Regions from separate parts of the Homo sapiens genome. Here region 1 is linked to region 2. The links are contacts of gene promoters, found by promoter capture Hi-C in blood cells and fetal thymus (Javierre and others, 2016). All regions are on one chromosome and are shown on one strand. Each heading gives the region's core, a stretch centred on a gene start or on the middle of the fragment in contact. The rest is flanking DNA. Distances are from core to core; before and after follow the strand shown. Region 1 overlaps TOP6BL (TOP6B like initiator of meiotic double strand breaks). Region 2 holds the start of B4GAT1 (beta-1,4-glucuronyltransferase 1).

The links. Contacts are between HindIII fragments. The CHiCAGO score rates a contact against its expected background, and 5 or more counts as called.
Region 1: a fragment that was not itself captured here is called in contact with the fragment with the promoter of B4GAT1 in region 2 in 1 of 17 cell types (M2 macrophages); the score reaches 5.0 in M2 macrophages.

Annotation. Positions count from the first base shown.
Region 1 is chr11:66,801,093-66,803,958 of GRCh38, forward strand. TOP6BL (TOP6B like initiator of meiotic double strand breaks) reads left to right here. Exons shown (of 15, transcript NM_001302084.2): 6 at 1-10. Among named protein-coding and RNA genes, the nearest start is that of RCE1, 41 kb to the right of the region's middle. The HindIII fragment of the contact is 3,787 bases long and covers 1-2,866 here.
Region 2 is chr11:66,346,110-66,348,931 of GRCh38, forward strand. It overlaps B4GAT1 (beta-1,4-glucuronyltransferase 1), which reads right to left and starts at 1,520. Exons shown (of 2, transcript NM_006876.3): 1 at 381-1,520; 2 at 1-131. The coding sequence starts at 1,436. It overlaps B4GAT1-DT (B4GAT1 divergent transcript), which reads left to right and starts at 1,882. Exons shown (of 2, transcript NR_135761.1): 1 at 1,882-1,961. It overlaps TRS-GCT3-1 (tRNA-Ser (anticodon GCT) 3-1), which reads left to right and starts at 2,011; the gene lies at 2,011-2,092. RefSeq lists a silencer at 1,564-2,153 and an enhancer at 2,180-2,680. The HindIII fragment of the contact is 12,978 bases long and covers 1-2,822 here.

The DNA.
Region 1 (2,866 bases), core at 99-2,598, 450 kb after region 2:
ATTATGTGAGGTGAAGGCGTAAAGCCTTGTTGTCCCTCTGCATGTTTTACTCTCCTCTCGAGTACGAATGTGGGTAGAAATTGGAAATTGTCTCACTTGTCATTTGTAAGTGCCAGGTGTCAGCTTCTCTATAAGAAAAGCAGAAGTAAAACTTTTTTTTATGTTGAAAACTGCTATTTTAAGTTATTTATGTATTTGAATCTATTCTAAATGACCTGAAGACATGTGCCTTCTTCTCTTCAGGCCTTATTTTACACAGACCCTGCTAGTTCCAATCCCATTTAGGCATGAGAAGAGAAGACTATGAATTTAAAACTTTACTTGAATTCTTGGCTAGAGAGATAGTATGAATACAAAGGAATTCAGTGTACATTATTTTCTGTGCATCAGCATTTTGCATAGGTTTGGAAATCATCTCTCTGCCCATCTCCATCTTCTTCAGACTCCAAGAAAGTAAATCTGGCCAGGCGCAGTGGCTCATGCCTATAATCCCAGCACTTTGGGAGGCTGAAGTTGATGGATCACTTGAGGTTAAGAGTTTGAGACCAGCCTGGCCAACATGGCAAAACCCTGTCTCTGCTAAAAATACAAAAATTAGCTGGGCATGGTAGCACATGCCTGTAATCCCAGCTACTTGGGAGGCCAAAGCATGAGAATCACTTGAACCCAGGAGGTGGAGGTTGCAGTGAGCCGAGATCACGCCACTGCACTCCAGCGACAGAGCAAGACTCTGTCTCAAAAAAAATAAATAAATAAAAAATGTAAAAAATCCATGGAGGAGGTGGTAAACAATATGGAACACACAGAGCCCTTCTGTCTTGCCTTCCTGTGCCATTTAACTACCACAGAATCCAAAGTGAAAATGAATTATGTCAAGAAAAGACCTAACATATGCTTAAGTCCAATTAATTTATTTTTTCTTTTTTTGAGACAGGGTCTCAGTCTGTTCAACCCAGATGCCATCATAGCTCACTGCAGCCTTGGTCTCCTGGGCTCAAGTCATTTTCCCACCTCAGCCTCTCGAGTAGCTAGTAGCTAGGACCACAGAAATATGCTACCATACGCTGCTAATTTTTTTTTTTTTTGAGACGGAGTCTCGCTCTTTCGCCCAGGCTGGAGTGCAGATCTCACCTCACTGCAACCTCCACCTCCCTGGTTCAAGCGATTCTCCTGCCTCAATCTCCTGAGTAGCTGGGACTATAGGTGCATGCCACCACGCCCAGCTAATTTTTTTGTATTTTTAGTAGAAATGGGGTTTCACCATGTTGGCCAGGATGGTCTCAATCTCCTGACCTCGTGATCCTCCTGCCTCGGTCTCCCAAAGTGCTGAGATTACAGGCATGAGCCACTGCGCCCAGCCCATATACTGCTAATTTAAAAAAAATTTTTTTTTGTAGAGATGAGGTTGTTGCCTAGGCTGGTGTCAAACTCCTGGACTCAAGCAATCCTCCTGCCTCGGCCTTTCAAAGAGCTGGGATTACAGATGTGAGCCAATGTGTCCAGCCCTAATTTAGTCTTTATTCATTAGTTTCTGCCTCTATTTATGTGCCCAGAGGCAACACTAGTAGTCAAAGTCTCTTAAGGCTTAAAGAGACTGCCTGTGGTTCTTAGTCTGTTTTCTTATTCTCACCCAAAATTACACCTCAGATGAGAATATTTTTGTCATTTAATATGCAGGTAATAATTTCCCCACCCCATATCTTTCTTTAGTGATCCTCTAATAATAAACAATCCTTACAGGTAGCAGCTCATCATCATAGTTGTACTGACACAAGTTTAAGCCTTTGAGCCAATTTTTGTAGATGTGTTTCCTTGGATGACCTGATTAGAGACAAAGGGAAAGGTTCATTAATATTTCCTCTCTATTAATTAATTCATTCATTCTTAATCAGCTTTCTCAGGTTGACTGTTTTCTCTCTGTTTAGAAAAGAGCTATTGGAAAGTAACAAAATTTTACTAGATTCTTTCTAGGAGAGAAAGATGGCCTGGTTTTTTCTCATTGTTACTATCAAACAGCAACCTCAGACCTCTTCAGCGGAAGGTGTAGCATGCGTGAGAGCAGACTTATAAGTATCATGGGGCCAGTTTTAGGCCATTTGTGATTCATGGGCCCCCTCACACAATGCTGACCTTTGAATGAATTTGGAAATTTGCTCAGAACCAAAGATTAATTTTAGTGGAGGAAGTATACTTGAGAATAAGAAACAGGCTGGTCATGATATCTCACACCTGTAGTCCCAGCACTTTGGGAGGCCAAGGCAGAAAGATTGCTTGAGGCCAGGAGTTTGAGACCAGCCTAATAAACATAGTGAGACCCCATCTCTAATAAAATAAAATAATAGTAATTATTTTTCGAGACAAAGTCTCGCTCTGTTGCTCAGGCTGGAGTGCAGTGGCGCAATATCAGCTCACTGCAACCTCCGCTTCCCAGGTTCAAGCGATTCTCCTGCCTCAGCCTCCTGAATAGCTGGGATTACAGGTGTGCACCATCATGCACAGCTATTGTATCTTTAGTAGAGATGGAGTTTCACCATGTTGGCCAGGTTGGTCTTGAACTCCTGACCTCAAGTGATCCACCCACCTCAGCCTCCCAAAGTGCTGGGATTACAGGCATGAGCCACAATGCCTGGTCTAAAATGTTTTTTTAAAAAGAGAAACTAAGAAGCATCCGTTAGTGGCAGCAAAAGCAGGAGCAATGATATCTCTGAAATGCCAGTTTTTCTACTACTTCCATTGCTGTGATTCCCTGAGTGAGACATAAGTTATTTATTCCAACAAAACTGATATGGCAGGTTGTGTGGTTGTACATATGCTAGAGGTTACAAAAATAATTTTGAATGCTCTTTTAAATAATTTCTTAAGAGGA
Region 2 (2,822 bases), core at 270-2,769:
AGGATCTTATTGTGCTGATTTTCAGCCTCCTTTTGGGGATGGAACTTCAACGCTTCTTTGAAGCCCTTATGAACCAAGAAACCTTCGTTCAGGACCTCAAAATCAAACCCCGCCACATGCAGCTCGCAGGCCTGCAGGAGGAAAGACAGGTTAGCAAAGTTTGATGACATTGACAGGCCTGAGACTGACTTCCCTAAAGCCACAGTCCAGCGTCCTCACCCCTCTGGAAGTATCCTGGATCTTCCACACCATCCACCCACCTCCTGAACTATGATCCCTCCTGCTTCATTGCCTCCTTTCCATCCAGGGCCACTCCTCATAACTCCCTGATCCCACCACCCCTCCTGCCCCATTACCCCTGCCCTCTCCCTTATGAGCACCTGGCTGATTCGGTTGAAGCCGTACTGCCGAAAGCGCTCGTCGAAGGTGGGCACCTTGCCTCCTGCCACGTAGAATGGCTCCCAGGGGTCCTGCCAAGGTACCACGTAGGCGGGCCGCAGCAAGCTCTCTTCCGGCAGGTTGACCCAGCGGGAATAGTTGGTGGGTGCCTGGCAGGGGGTGCACAACCCATAATAGAAGGGCCGCACCTCGCCAACCTGGTAGAGCTGCACCAGCTCGTTTTTGTTCATGGGCATGCGGCGGGCTCTTCGGATTTCGAAGGCAGGCACCACCAGCGCGGTGCCTCCCCACTGGTTGCTCTGATCCAGCATTTCCCGCAGGCCTCTCCACAGCCCCTCGCTGGGCACCATGTCCACATCGATCACCAGGGCATAGTTGGCCCCCTCACGAGCCAGATTCCTCAGCAGGTTATTGGGGTAGGAGACATTGGTGCCCAGCGCATAATTAATCCCGGGCTGGGCCACCCTGGCTAGCTTGTCAAAGACCTCCTGGCAGGACCGCAGCAGGGCAAACTCCCCCGGCTCCCGGGGGTCGGGCACGGCTGCCTCGTAACGCGAGGGGCACACGAGGTGCATGGCGACCCTGGCGCGCATGTCGGGGCAGTGGCTGCTCAGCGCGTAGGCCAGCACCGTGGCCAGCTGCGCCTCCTCCTTGGTGGCCGCGAACACCGACACGGACAGCGGGCCCTCCCAGCGCTCCAGCAGACCCGACAGGTGCAGCAGGTTGTCCACGCTGGCGTGCGTGGCCAGGATCACATCGTTGGGGTCCATGGTGGTCTTCAGCAGGCCCCTGTAGACGCGGTAATCGCCGCTAGCGTCCAGGACGCCTCCAGAGGCCAGCGCGGTGCGGAGCTGCGCCTTGACCTGGTCCACGGACCGTGGGGACGGGGGAAAGAACTCAAAATATTGGTCTTGCTCCTCCTGCCCGTGCAGTCCGGACAGCAGCGACAGGTAGAGCAGCTGCAGCATCGCCACCAGCATGAGCGCGGCCAGCAGCAGCTGGTAGAAGGCGCACCGGATGGCGTAGGACATCTGCATGGCTCTCGGGGCTCGGGGCGCGCAGCAACGACCACCCGGCCACAGACTACGCCAGCGGCCGCAAGCCCGGATTTACCGCAGCCTGCCGAGCGCAGCCGAGGCGAGCCGAGGCCAGCCGAGCCCCGAGCGCCGCCCCGCCCGCCGCCCGCCGCCCGCCGCCCGCCGCCCGCCACCGCCCCCAGCCCCCGGCGCGCCGGCTCGCCCCCTACGAGGGAGGAGGAGCCACGGCCCCGCCGCTCGGCCGCGCGCCGTGCAGACGCCCGCCCGCCCGGGCCCCGCCGGCTTCCCGGGACGCACTCCTCTCCCTCCCCGCCGGCGCGCGCACCCTGGACCGGGCGCGCCCTGAACGCGCGGCGCGCTCGGCCGGACTCGGAGGGAAACCGCGGCAGAGCTCGGCTGCAGCGTGGTAAAGGATGGCGCGGGCTCAGCAGAAAGGAAATCAAAACGCTCCCTTCCTTCCGCGGCTTCTTCTTTCCCTGTGTCCGAAGAGGTCTGCGTTGCGACTTACGTGGTAGTGCTTGGAAGGTGCGGAGTAGATGAGAGATAAGTGAATGTGGACAAACCTGTCACGTAGGACGAGGTGGCCGAGTGGTTAAGGCGATGGACTGCTAATCCATTGTGCTTTGCACGCGTGGGTTCGAATCCCATCCTCGTCGGCCCTGTTTTATAGAGGTTGGGGGGGAAGCATCTACATTTTCACATCCTGCCTATTTGGAGCAGCAAGCTGGAGGTGCGAGGGGTGAGGCATCTAAATTTTCACATCCTGCCTGTGGAGCAGCAAGCTGAAGAAAACTGAACTGGGGGTGAGAGTGGAATTCGATCCCAAGTCTCTCTGGTCTTTATCCACCACGCATCTCCTGCCTGCTCCTACTTCAGGTGTCTGTAGCTCTGGGCAGAGGCCAAAGGTGTTTTCTTTCCTTCTAGAAAGAGGGCCCAGGGGTTGGTGGCACGGAAAAGACTAGAACCGGGATTCTGGCCAGTGTGAAGTTGGGGGCCAACGTATGATCTGCAGGAATCAGGGAAGCCCCCCATTGGAGGCATCGCCCTCCCCGTCCGAAGTAGTGGTACTTGTCCTACTCTCCAGCACTTCTCCTAGGGCGGAGACCTTGTGTCCACATGCCCTGCTCCCCAACACACACAATCTCTTTTTTTTTTTTTTTTTTTTTTTTTGAGGCGGATTCTCGCTCTGTCGCCCAGGCTGGAGCGCAGTGGCGCGATCTCGGCTCACTGCAACCTCTGCCTTCCAGGTTCAAGCGATTCTCCTGCCTCAGCCCCGAGTAGCTGGGACTACTAGCGCATGCAGCACGCCCGGCTAATTTTTTGTATTTTTAGCAGAGACGGAGTTTCACCGTGTTAGCCAGGATGGTCTCGGATCTCCTGACCTCC